Regions from separate parts of the Homo sapiens genome. Here all the other regions are linked to region 1. The links are contacts of gene promoters, found by promoter capture Hi-C in blood cells and fetal thymus (Javierre and others, 2016). All regions are on one chromosome and are shown on one strand. Each heading gives the region's core, a stretch centred on a gene start or on the middle of the fragment in contact. The rest is flanking DNA. Distances are from core to core; before and after follow the strand shown. Region 1 has its middle 30 kb from the start of LINC01133. Region 2 holds the start of VSIG8 (V-set and immunoglobulin domain containing 8). Region 3 holds the start of SLAMF8 (SLAM family member 8).

What was found. The method cuts DNA at HindIII sites, captures the fragments that hold promoters and counts their contacts. A CHiCAGO score of 5 or more calls a contact.
Region 2: the fragment with the promoter of VSIG8 here is called in contact with a fragment that was not itself captured in region 1 in 1 of 17 cell types (total B cells); the score reaches 6.0 in total B cells.
Region 3: the fragment with the promoter of SLAMF8 here is called in contact with a fragment that was not itself captured in region 1 in 2 of 17 cell types (total B cells and naive B cells); the score reaches 7.7 in total B cells.

Annotation. Positions count from the first base shown.
Region 1 is chr1:159,989,232-159,993,269 of GRCh38, reverse strand. No RefSeq gene overlaps it. Among named protein-coding and RNA genes, the nearest start is that of LINC01133, 30 kb to the right of the region's middle. The HindIII fragment of the contact is 2,876 bases long and covers 1,147-4,022 here.
Region 2 is chr1:159,860,112-159,864,407 of GRCh38, reverse strand. It overlaps VSIG8 (V-set and immunoglobulin domain containing 8), which reads left to right and starts at 1,751. Exons shown (of 7, transcript NM_001013661.1): 1 at 1,751-1,935. The coding sequence starts at 1,887. LOC107985216 (a long non-coding RNA gene) reads right to left here. Exons shown (of 2, transcript XR_001738263.2): 2 at 1-3,762. RefSeq lists enhancers at 1,423-2,335, 2,336-3,250. The HindIII fragment of the contact is 16,901 bases long and covers 1-4,296 here.
Region 3 is chr1:159,824,295-159,828,639 of GRCh38, reverse strand. SLAMF8 (SLAM family member 8) reads right to left here and starts at 1,767. Exons shown (of 5, transcript NM_020125.3): 1 at 1,702-1,767. The coding sequence starts at 1,741. The HindIII fragment of the contact is 24,464 bases long and covers 1-4,345 here.

The DNA.
Region 1 (4,038 bases), core at 1,335-3,834:
TCAGACCTACATTCTCTCGAGTTAGTTTTGATTACTTATATATTTTCCATAAATTTACCATTTTATTAAGATTTTCAAACAAGTTAGTATAGAGTTTTATGTAGAAATATTTTAAAATTTTAATCTATAGGCATGATTATAATCTTTAGTTTTAATCTGAGGCTATAATGTGTCATTCCTAATATGGCCCATTTTTGTTTTCTTTCTTCCCCCTCCATAGGTGTAGGATATTTTCTTTCTTTCTTTCTTTTCTTTCTTTTTTTTCTTTTGAGACGGAGTTTCACTCTTGTTGCCCAGGCTGGAGTGCAGTGGTGTGATCTCCGCTCACTGCAACCTCTGCCTCCCGGGTTCAAGTGATTCTCCTGCTTCAGCCTCCTGAGTAGCTGGGATTACAGGCATGCGCTACCATGCCCAGCTAATTTTGTATTTTTACTAGAGATGGGGTTTTTTCATGTTGGTCAGGCTGGTCTCAAACTCCTGACCTCAGGTGATCCACCCGCCTCTGCCTCCCAAAGTGCTGGAATTACAGGCATGAGCCACCGCGTCCGGCTGATTTTTTTTTTTAATGTTTATTCAGTATATGGCTTGGGTTTCCCTCTGAGAAAAGGATTTGAGTTCAAGTTGTTTTTTGGTTGGTGCAGGAAAATCCTGGTGGGGAGCAGGGAGGAGACACAGGGGTAGAAATGTGGCCCATAGAGGAGGAATTATCCAGCCATCTGCCTCTGTAGGCACTGGGATGTGGTGGGAATATCTGGGGAGTAAAAGCATGCCTCAGAGGGGTTCCACTCCTGAGGTGGCAGAGGGGAGTTATTTATATACAACTCCTGACAGTCACCAGTTGAAGGTTACTGTGTGTGGCGGTGGGTGGTGTCAGGGTGTTAATTCCCTGGCACTTATAGCCTGTCTCAGGCACAGGCAGAAAGGCTGCTTACAGTCTCAGAAAAGGCTGGTAGGCAAAGGAATGCAGACACTGGCATTGGAATTCTTTTGGAAGACACTGAAGTGATGTGGCTCTGAGCATATGGGAGAAGCATGACAGCTTCTGCTATGTACACCTGCTGGGGCTGATTGATCAATTCTGTTCCTTCACAGGTTTCTCATGAGTTTCATCTCTTAACTTTATTACTTTATTCTGTTTCTAAAGCTTAATTTAACATCCCTCTTTTTGACATCTTGAGTTATATGCTTACTTCATATATTCTCATTCTTTCTTATTTGATAATTAAAGCAATTCAGGTTAGTTATGGGGAATCATTGAGAAACCACTTGTAAAAGTGCTTAGCACAGTGTCTGGCAGACAGTAATTGCTCAACAAATGTTCATTACCATTTTCCTCAAACCCTTTGAAGTCACTTCTGTTAAAAGATAAACTTTAGAGAAATTAACATTAGCAGAGCTTAACTGGGCAAATAATGACTTGTGAATCAGGCAGCTTCCCAAACTAGAATAGGATCAGAGTGACTATGGCGCTGCTGTGTGGTGGAGCAATATTTACGAACAGGAAAAGAAAAGTGACTTACAGGAAACAGAAGTGAGGCACAGAAACAGCTGGATTGGTTACAGCTCAGGCATTTAGCTTATTTGAACACAGTTTGAATGGTTGGCAGCCTGTGATTGGCCCAAACTTGATTGGCACAAAAGTAGGCTACAGTCTGTTTATACATCCAGGTAGGTTACAGTTCACGATGTACTGAGAAGCCTTTAGACCGAACTTAAAATAAGTAAGTCTGCAGCTTTAGGCTAAAGTTGATTTTACACTTCTGATTACAGATGTGGATGTCTTCTCTTGATGTTGATATGTGGTATTTTCATTATCATTATTGCCCAAGAGTTCTGTAAATTGCAGTTTTCGTTTCCTGTTTGATCCGTGGATTATTTTGAAGAGTGTTTTCAAACCAAGTAGTTGGACGATTTTTGTTTACACATTTTTTCAATTTCTGGTTTTACTGTATTGTGGTATGCAATGTAGTCATGAAATTTCTGGGCTTGAAATTTATTTAAGGTTTTTAGTGGTTTAATATGTAATCAATTTTAAAAAATTGTTCCATAGACCCTGAAAAAGATTTTTTTTGTTTTTTTTTTCAATATTTACAAAGTGGATCCCAGCAATGACTTTTTTCTGACATTCTACATCTTTTGTTTGTTTACTTGATCTGTTAAGAACTGATGAAATCTCCACAGCAATTGTGTTTTGGTCATTTTCCTCTTATTCAGAAACTAAAGATTTATGACAAACACATCTTCATTGCAGATCTTGATTTTTACTACTTATCCTTTATTTTAATAGTTTAGGACTTTAATTCTTTTTGTATACTATATCTTTTTCTATCTTTTTATTTTTTATTTTTATTTATTTATTTTTGTTTTAGATGTGCCTCTTGTGGACAGTATATGGTTAGATCAAATATGATGATCTTTGTCATTTCATAGAAAAATATAACTTATTTAGATATACTGTGACAACCAATATGTTTGACTTTCTGATGAACTTGTCTGGATTCATTGGAATATATAATAGGAAAAAAAATTTGTTCTTTGTCCTTGGCGCAAAGCTCCTGAAACCTTTGAAATTTCCTGAGCAATAGGAGCATCTTTTGTTATTCATTATGCACCCCTTTCAGCAATCTGTGTTTGTGCTAATGAGGTGACTCTTGGCAGGGTCCCCTAGATCACTTTAAGATGGGAGCTAGTTCTGATCAAGTTCTGATAAAGCTCAGAAGTTTCAGCTCCACCCCCTCCTCATATGGGGAAGGGAGAGGGGCTGGAGATTGAATTTAGTCACCAATGACCAATGATTCCATCAATCATCCCTATGTAATAAAAGCTCCATAAAAACCTTTAAACAATGAGGTTCTGAGTTGGTGAACACGTTCACATACTGGGAGGATGGTGTATCCCAACTCCATGGGGACAGAAGCCCTGTGCTCCGGACCCTCCCGGACCTCATCTTCTGGGCCTGTTCCTTTGGCTCTTCATTTGTATCCTTTATAATAAATCGGTAAATGTAAGTAAAGTGGCCCCTGAGTTCTATGAGTCATTCTAGCAAATTATTGAACCCTGGCAAGGGGTGGGGTGTGGGAAGCCTGACTTTGTAGCCAAGTCAGATGCAAATGTGGGTAGCCTGGAGATCTGATGCTTGTGACTGGCATCAGAAGTGAGGGCAATCCTATGGGACTGTGCCCTTAAGCCTGTGGAGTCTGCCCGCCACTGAGTCTCAGAGTTGAACTGAATTATAGGATACTCAGTTGTTGTAGGAGAATTGGATAATAGGTTGGTGTAGGAAAAAAACACACACTTGGCAAAGATGAAAATCTGTTTTTAGTGTGTGTGTTTGCTAATATTTTAAAAAATATATTTGCTAGTTAGACTATAGGGATTGGACCAGACCAGTTCAGAGATGATTCATGTTGCTTGGGAACAAGCCCTTTATAGCTGCTGCTGCTTTTTGTTTGCAGTAGCTTCTCATGCCCGGGCCCTTCTGCCTGTTTCTCATGAAGGCTGCTGTGCTGCAGAGCCTGTCCAGACCATCCCATGTGGCCTGCTCCTGTGTCCAGCGCTTGTCTCTCAGAGTCTCACTGTGTTGCCCAGGTTGGTCCTTCCTGGGATCAAGGGATCCTCCTGCCTCAGGCTCCCAAATTTCTGGGATTACAGGCACGAACCACTGTGCCTGGTGTATTCCTACAGTATTGTAAAATAACATAGTCCATAGAAATCATGCCCTGTACTGCACTGAAAGAACACTTAGAATTTTCTTTTGCCTAATTCCAAGTCTCAGGTCATTTTAGTGACACAATTTTGCTGTTTTTCGCTCATTATGAATTATTCTTTCTGAGATGGATGGAGATAGAAGATCTGGCTTGAGTCCTTTTGTTGCCATGTTTTACATAGAGGGCCCAAAGAAGCATTCATATTCTTTTGCAGCTACCTCCTGAAAGAGGATTTTCATTTCTCTTGTCAATGGACTATGGGCAGGTTCAATATGGTCTTGGCTAAACTAGATGTCTTAAAGTGTAAAAGAAGCTTCTCCAAAATTTATCA
Region 2 (4,296 bases), core at 502-3,001, 130 kb after region 1:
CCCAAACTTAACCCCAGCTCTAACATTAGCCCACATCCAGAACCCAATTAAATCTGAAGCCTGCACTGTAGTTTAGTGGAACCACAATGTTACTGCTTTCTCCTCAATCTCTCTGTTCGTGGTCTGACCTGTTTTCCCTCCCACTCACCCTGACCTTCCATGGTTCTTGTTCGTGAGTGGGTCTAGTAATCCACAGGATCACCAAGACCATTTTTTGGACCTCTCTGGACTGACACCCTGGGTACCTGGGTATCCCAGCTTAGGCACCAGCCGCATTGGCTGAATCCCCATGTTTCTCCAGGTCTCTGTTTCCCCATCTGTAAAATGGGGATAATGATCCCTGCTCTTCAAAGGGAGCAGGACAATCCCATAAACCTAAAAATAAATAAGGAAATAAAGATATTCATTGTGTACATCTGGTAGGTCTCAGAGCGCCCTGTTATTGTTGGGAGTTCAGGTGCAACGGCTTGGAATGCAGAGACGCGTGGACTCCTTGTGTTTCCTTAATGTTCTGACTTATTTTTCCCCAGAGGGGTGGGCCCTGGCAGCATCCCTGAGCCCCATAACTCTCCCTAACACTCTTCCTCCTCTGCCCTTTCTGTGCCCCATGGTAGGGATGGGGGCAGTCCCTGACTCCTTTGAGGGAGTTGAGCTATTGAATGGGGTCACTCATGTCCTGACTCCCACCATGGAGTCCAACAAGGCACATGCCCATTCTGTCCCCCTTAGACAAGCCAACAAGGGGTGGCCCTTCACTTGCTCCCCATGCCTACCAGGACCCTCCCCACCCCAGCACGAACTTACCCAGAACTGTGCTGGTTTAGTCAGCCCGATGACCAGTCCAGGTTATGAGGGTCCTTGGTCTCAAGGACCCAGTTAATACTGGGACTGCATTAACCCTCAAGACCTGGCTACTCTTTCTGGGCAGAGAAGCCAGGACACCAAGCGATCCCTCAAGAAGTTCACTCAGAGGGGCTTAGCCATCCTCACAGAGACACCCTGACACAGACATCCTGCCTCCCTCCCACAGACATTGCTGAGGGGTGCACACGCTTACACAGGCACCCCCTTCCCTGGTCCTCTTGGCGCTGTTCTCTCCAACACTCCCTCACTAGCCCATCAGTCACCTTACTCCTAGCACACACCCTGGACCCCCCATAGCACCCCTGCTCCCAGGGGTCCCCTACACTTGGGGATGGCCTTGAGTCGAGTATGGGTGTGGAGGACAGTTCCAGAGGGGACAGCCAGGAGGAGACTCTGTTCCTGCACACACCCCTTCTCTCCTCTTTCAGCTCAGGAGGCCTGAGTCCCTTTGAAAGGCCTGAAGCCTGGGGGAAGGTGGGCTGGACACTCCTGGGGAACCCTATGCCCTGGGATCAGGATTAACTCTTCAGGTCCTGGCCACTCTTTCTCCCAAGCCTGGCTTCTCCTTCCTCTTCCCCACTTCCCCCAGGGAAGGAGGCAGCAAATGAGTGGTGAGGGGAGCCCTTGGAAGCTGTAAATGAGGTGACTGTTGTCACCCTGAGGATGTGGCCAGGAGGAAGTGAAGTTTAACAGGTGCCTAATTACAAGTCCCGCTGGCTGTCCTGTGCCACTCTTAGGACAGGGAAGAGCTTGGGTGAGGGCTGGGTAATGCCCAGGTAGGCCACCCTGTCACCCTGCTAATTAGGGTTCCTGGGACTCCTCCCCAAGGCGGGGACCAGGCCCCCTCCCTCCCATAGAAATAACTCCAGCTGCTCCCCAGCTGGGCACTCATTGCACCTTCCTGCCACCCCAGGCAGTGTCTGGGCCCTCAGCTCCCCCTCCCTCCACCTACCCCCTCACACCCACCACTACGACCCCACGGGATACCCAGCCCAGACGGAGGAAACACCGAGCCTAGAGACATGAGAGTTGGAGGAGCATTCCACCTTCTACTCGTGTGCCTGAGCCCAGGTACGGGGCTGGGCAGGGGGCAGGGTAGCCAGCATGAGGCTAGGTGGGAAGGAAAGGGGCAGCAAGGGCTCACAGTGGAGCCTGGGGCTGCCTGAGTTGCCTGGCAGGGTGCTGCCCACCCTTGCCCTGCTGCAGCCGGGTGTGGGTATTACCAGGGGACCTTTCCCCAGGAGACCCTGTGCCTGATGTTCAGGGTGTGTGTCTGTAGTGCAGAGGTCTTTGAGTGGATCTTTATATGTCCCCTGTCGGGCTCACACATGTGTGCAGGTGCCCTGCAAGCTCATGCCGTGACTAGGAGGAGAGGGATTGATTGCTCTGCAGGAGCTGGAGGTGGGGTAGGAGAGGGGTAAGCACGGGCATTGGGTGAGGGCTCAGGAGGAGCTTGGGAAGGATCAATTTTCATCAGACTGTGTGCTATTCCCAACGCTACTCCTTCTCTCCCAAGGCCAGGGCCAAGGGGCAGGGAAGTCACTTGCCTTGAAAGGGCAAGAGACTAAGTCTGGTGTAAGTCTGAGTGGTTTCTTCCATCATGGCCAGTGACAGCTCAGGCCTGAGACCTCAGCCTTGGGCCCCCTGTGCTATGACAGGGCAGTGCCCCACTCTAGGATGAGGCCTGAGGGTGGTGGGGATGGCAACTCCAGAGACTTCTCACCCCACCAGGACAGGTCCACAGGGCAGGGCTCAAGTTTGGACATTGTGGCTTCCTGCCCAGGTTGGGGCAAGTTCCACCAAGGGGCATTCTATGCCAACATCACTGGAAAGGGCTCCGAGTCCCTCTTGCAGTCTGGATTTGGGATGAAGGGGCATGAAGGAGGAATTTGGGAAGGCGGGGTGACATTTTCAGCCTTTGTGTGAGCGTGAATGTGTATGTGAGTGTGTGGGTGCGTGCACCTGCATGGGAATGATGACATTTCCGGCAGGATAGCTGCAGCCCTTCTCTGTCTGATGAGAGCAGGGCTGGCAGAGTCCACTCGGGAGGCTCCAGCTGTGCTGTGGGGACCCGGACTTCCCCCTGTGTGGTGTGTCAATGGGTGTGTGAGGACAACTCAGCACTGGCTGCATTAACGCATCAATACCCTCAGCTGGAGCCGCCTTTTCTCCCCTCCCTTACCTCCAGAGGGAAGATCAGGAGTTCTGGAAGCACCTTGAAGATTCAGAAAGAATTTGCAAGCAGAGAGTAGGCACCACTATTGAGATGACACCCCGTAAAGCATGGCCAGTTTCTGGTGCTTTTGGGGGGCAAAGAATCACCACTGTCCTCTTCCTTGGAGAGCCCATGTGATTCCTCCATTCCTGTCTCTCCTCAAGTCTCCCATCCAGCTCTCTCTTCCACTTTGCCTTTCTTCCCTCTCTCCAGCCTCTCCTCTCACATTCCCTGTAGTACTTCCTTAGTGCTACAGCAAGAGGAATCAAGGTGAGACATTAGGAGCAACTTCCCAAGGAGAGGGAGGGGTGCGGAAAGGCTGGAACCCTTGGGAGGAGGTTGAGAAGACTTCTAAGGAGATAGAAAAGCTGGGTGAGGCTCCCTGGTCTGGGACAATTGAAGAATCTCTCAGCCTGGTGCAGGGTGGAGGTGCTTTTCTTGCAGCCTGTCGCTCCTTCCCAAGCCCCTCTCCCTGAATGCTTACCATCCTGCCTGGCAGGCTCCTATGGCATGGAGAGAGTCCTTCCTGTGTGGGTGCTTCCAGCGGTGCTTCTCCAGGGTGGAGCCTCTGCTCTCAGCCGAGTTCTGGCTCATCCCTGGCTTGCCTTGAGCAGCCTCAGGATCTGGCAGATGGCAGCAGGATCCTTATCTCAGGAATGAGCTGTTGTTCTCTTGGCCTGGAGCTGGAAGAGGCATCACTAGGTCCCGTTAGAGCCCCAGCAGTCAGCCTGCCTGCTCTGGGTCACCTTGGAGTCTAGCTGGGTTATGACAGAGCTGATGGCCCAGCCAGTGTTCCTAGGGGGGATGTTCAGGGATCCCTGAGCTGTTGAGGGTGTTGAAAGGGCCCTTGCTGGCCTCTCTGGAGCCAGGCTAAGCCTTCCTGGCAGGGCTTCCATAGATATGTCTGGTCTTGAATGAACACATACAGGGACTATATGAACACACGGTGGGTGTGTCTTTTGAATTAATATGTTCTGTGTTTGTGTGCAGATTGTGTCTGTGTCTGAATGAATCTATATAGTGTCTGTGTTTGTAGGAAGGTGGGGCCATATAGGTATGTATCTGCATTTTGAAGCCTTGTAAGAGTGGGCCACGTGCCGATTTGTTTGCCTGTGATGGTGTAATTGTGTGTGTGCATGTGTGAGATCTCTATGTGTAAACATGGTCCTGAGCCACATGATAGAACAGAATGATTGCTGAGACCTGGGGCTGTGACT
Region 3 (4,345 bases), core at 518-3,017, 160 kb after region 1:
GCTCTTTCTCCCCATCGTTTGCTTCCAGTGCCCACCACTGTTTAAGAACAGACTGTGGGAGAAGCCTAGTAAATGGTATTGAATAAATGACCTACCCTGCTGAGGACTGACCCTATGCCTGTCGCTGGCACAGGGTGTAGGGAAGAATAAGAGGTGATGAAGTTTTGGTCAATGAGACATGATCTGGATGGTTGCTCAGTCGGCCATGATAATTCCGGTCCCCCTCTGCCTCACTGTCCTCCAGGCCCAACAACCTCCTCTCACACTGGAGATGACTTCAGTGTTAATGCAGAGCAGGAATGTAACACACAAAGAGAATTGCACTGGATGTCAGCCAAGACCTAGCTGCTCCTACCTGCTCCTCCTGGTGCTGCCACAGATCAGCTGTGTGCCCTTCCACACATCACCCTGCCCCAGGCTTCAGTACCACTGAAAAATAAGGGGTCTGTACCAGGTCAGTCACACAGATCTTTGATCATTAAGGGCCATTTGAAAAATTATTTTTGGGCTGGGTGTGGTGGCTCATGCCTGTAATTCCAGCACTTTGGGAGGCTGAGGAGGGCGGATCACTTGAGGTCAGGAGTTTGAGACCAGCCTGGTCAACATGATGAAACCCTGTCTCTACTAAAAATACAAACATTAGCCGGGTTTAGTGGCAGTGACCTGTAATCCCAGCTACTCAGGAGGCTGAGACAGGAGAATCGCTTGAACCCAGGAGGCAGAGGTTACAGTGAGCTGAGATGCACCATTGCATTCCAGCCTGGGTGACAGAGCAAGACTCCGTCTCAAAGAAAAAAAAAAAAGGCAAATTATTTTTGTCTCACCAAACAGACCAAGGCCTTTTTTGAGGTTAAGGTGTGATTTCCTGCACATGTTTAGAAATATTGAAGAAATCTGCAGGCTTTGGAGCTCTCAGGGCCAGGAACTCAGGCAAGGAGATGAAACAAAGCAACCCAAAGTCCCTATGAGCCTCTGATGTAAACAATATCATCTTAATCTTTGCTGCACCCCATAAACCCTCATCCATGGCCCGGCAGTGTTGACCCATGTCATGTTGGCTGCTTGTTGACCAAGGAAGGGAACTCAGGCATCAGATGGATAGAGGGATCGCCCGGTGTGGAGGAGACCCCGTGTATCAGCCATCCCAACATCACACCACCGTCGGCCACCCCTAAGTCCACGTGGGCCACATTTAGCCTCTCTCATCCCTACTTAGTACTTGCCTCCCCTTATAAAGGCCTGTAGGGAGGGACCTCAGCTCCCCCACAGGCTGTTGAAAACACACTCTGCTGATTGTGGGGAACCCTGCTCTGCCCTGCCCTCTGCTACTCTCCTCAAACTCTGCAGAGTTTCTGCATGCTAACACTGCCGGGTCCTCACCATTCTCACAGCCGACTTTCTCTCCAAACCAGCAGTATCACCCACTGGCTCCGTTTTTACTGCTCTGGGCCACAAAACAGCTCATGTCTCACAGATAAGAATACCCCTCAAGCTGCCACCTCCTCCCTCCCAGGACCCTGCATCTCTTTGTATCTGCCTAGCTTAAAATGTTGCCCAAGAGCTTGTTCTAGTCTTTCCTACCCACCCTCAGCTTCTGGGTTCTCACCCAGGTCGAGGGATCCCTGCCCAGACGTCTGGCATAGGCAGCTGGGGAGGGGCCTTCAGCTCTCCGAGGACAGGCTATCTGCCTGCCCCACTTACCTTCCCAGAGAAGCAGACTCCACAGGGGCCTCATGACCATCTTTCTCTGGAGAGGCAGGCAAACTCCCTCGACAGCCAAAATCCAGAACCTCCCAGGCCGAGTGGATGCACGGGAGGAGCTGTGGTCCTTCTGGAAAGTCCCATGTTCAGAAGGAGGAATCTTGACTCAGAACAGGATGTCCCAAAAGTGAAAACATCCAGAATAAAGTGGAAGTTGTCCCTGGGCCTCTCTGGGCTTACAGGAGCAGATTCTTGTAAGTCAGCCTCTTTCACATGCACATGGTTGGCTAACACGTGGCGACAACAGCCCCCACACAAGCCACATCCTCCTTGCTGGATCTCGCTGGCCTTCCTGCATCTCAGCCTGCCTCACTACTATCTGTCATCCTCATTCTAGCTTAAAATGCTTCTGTGGCCTCCCGTGGACCTGAGGATGAGGACTAACTCTGCTCTGCATGCAGGCCCTCCTGAGTCAGGCCTTCTTCTCCAGGCTGGTCGCCCACAGTCATTCTGCCCTCCAGCCATCCCAAGCCAGAAGGCCTCCTTCTCAGAACTACTGATTTCACACTTCCCTGTGTTGTACTTTCCCCACCACCCCGACTAGGCATGCTGCTCCCTCTATCCTTGCAAACAGAACATGGCTGTGCAGTCGGCGAGGACATCCTTCCAGGCTTCCTGACCACAGGCAGGTGAGAGGCCCTCTCCTTGTGTCCTGTGCATGCCCACACCTCCCTCTTTACTCTTGCTGTGTTGTTGATGACAGTTTTCTGGTTTTCACAGACTGTTTAGCCAGTCTTTTGTTCCCTTCTGTGTTGCCCTCAGTGCTTGGCACATTACAGATGTTTCATGAGTATTTGTTAAGTGAGTGAGTACATTCTAGACATGGCTACACATCTGGCTTTATGTAAGCCTTGCAACTCTCCTCTGAGAGGATCATCTTGTTACCTGGTTAGAAATGGGAAAATGTGAAAACCAGAGTGAGGTTAGGCCCCTTGCAGAGCTCACAGAGAGGCAGAGCTGGAACTTGAACCTCAGCCTTTGAAGTGTGGTCTATTTTGCCACAGTTATCCCCTCCTCATCCTGTTTCTCTTCTCACTTCAAGTTTCTTGGTTTCTTGCCAGTGAAGGTTTTTAGAGGACGTGTTGCCCCTGAGGAAAATTCCTGCTAGTCTGGAGTGTGGCTCATCGTATCTGGTCCTGCACAGCCTCTCGCCTGTCAATCAAACTGGACACTGAGCTTTGGACTCAGCCAGGAACTAGGCATATAGGATGGGGTGGGGGTGGGTGGTGAGCAGGAGGATTTTGGGATAAGGTTTTTGCCCTCCAGGTACTCACAACCAAAATGTAGAGATAGGTACACCAAGGAAAGTGAAGGGTTATCTGCAGACAGACACCACTTTGTGCAAACAGGTAGTCAGTCCTCAGAAGTGGGTGGGAAAGAGGGCTTCGCGGATCTGGGCAGGGGACGCTTCTTGAGAAGGTGGAATTTGAGCTGTGCCTTGAAGATGGGCATGGTTTAGATAATATGAGGAAAGGAGAGAGCCAGAGGTTGGGGGTGGGCTCTGGGCAGGAGGGGAGAGCAGAGCGTGCAGGGATGTGGCTGTGGGAAAATACCAAGTAGGCTCCACAGAGGACAAGGGACAGCAGACAGGAATCCTTTAGGGCTGGGTGGGAAGAATGGAAAAGGAGGTTGGGGGCAGATTGTGGAGGCCTTGAAAACTGGGTTAAGTTCTTCTGGAGACTAGTGGCTCTCAACTGTGTTCAGCACTTGGATTCTCAGAGATGCCATCAGGGTGAGCTAGGGCCCAGGAATCTGTGGTTGTAACAAGCACCCCACTCAGCGTGAGTCTGTGGCTGGTGGACTGGGGGACCGCTCCGGAAGCACTGCTTGAAGAGAGGGGCTGTTGCATGTTTTAAGTAGGAGTGGGAGGACAGCAGGCAGGGCAGGTTGGAGAGAACAAAGGGGCCAGGGAACCTGAACAACAGCTGTTGTCTGTTGTGATGGTCCTGTGAGAAGGAGAAGGGACTGCATATGAAGGAAATGTCTAGAGTACTGAGGAAAGGGCAGAACTGGGAAGCTGCCTGTCATGGGGGTGGAGAGGGCAAGGGAGGGAACTCATTTACGACTCCATTGCCAATTCCGTCATTCATTCCTCAGGCATTTATTGAGCATCTACTTAGGTGCCAGGACCTAGGGACACAGAGATGAAAGGCTCAGCCCCTGACCTTAAGGAGTTCACAGAAGATGGTATATATAAACCAATAATTATAACCAGTGTAGCAAGAACAATGTCAGATGTGTGCCCTGGAGGCTGTGAGAGCCGGAGGACACCTTTGACCCTGCCAGGGCAGGTGGGGGTCTGGGGAGGGCTCTGTGGAGGGGGTGGTGTTTGAGGTGAGACTTAAGAATACAATCAGATGAGGGTAGGAGTTCAGAACTCAAGCATGATTCAGACTTCTTGAGTTCAAATCTTGGCTGTGAAACCTTGAGCCAAGTAACTTCCCTGTGCTTCAGTATCCTCATCTGTGAAATGGGGAGCAATAACAATACCTACCTCTTAGTACTGCCAATGAACACATGTGAAGGTTTAACTTGGGGTCGGGTGCAGTTAGCACTCAAATACTAACTATTGCTACTAAATGGC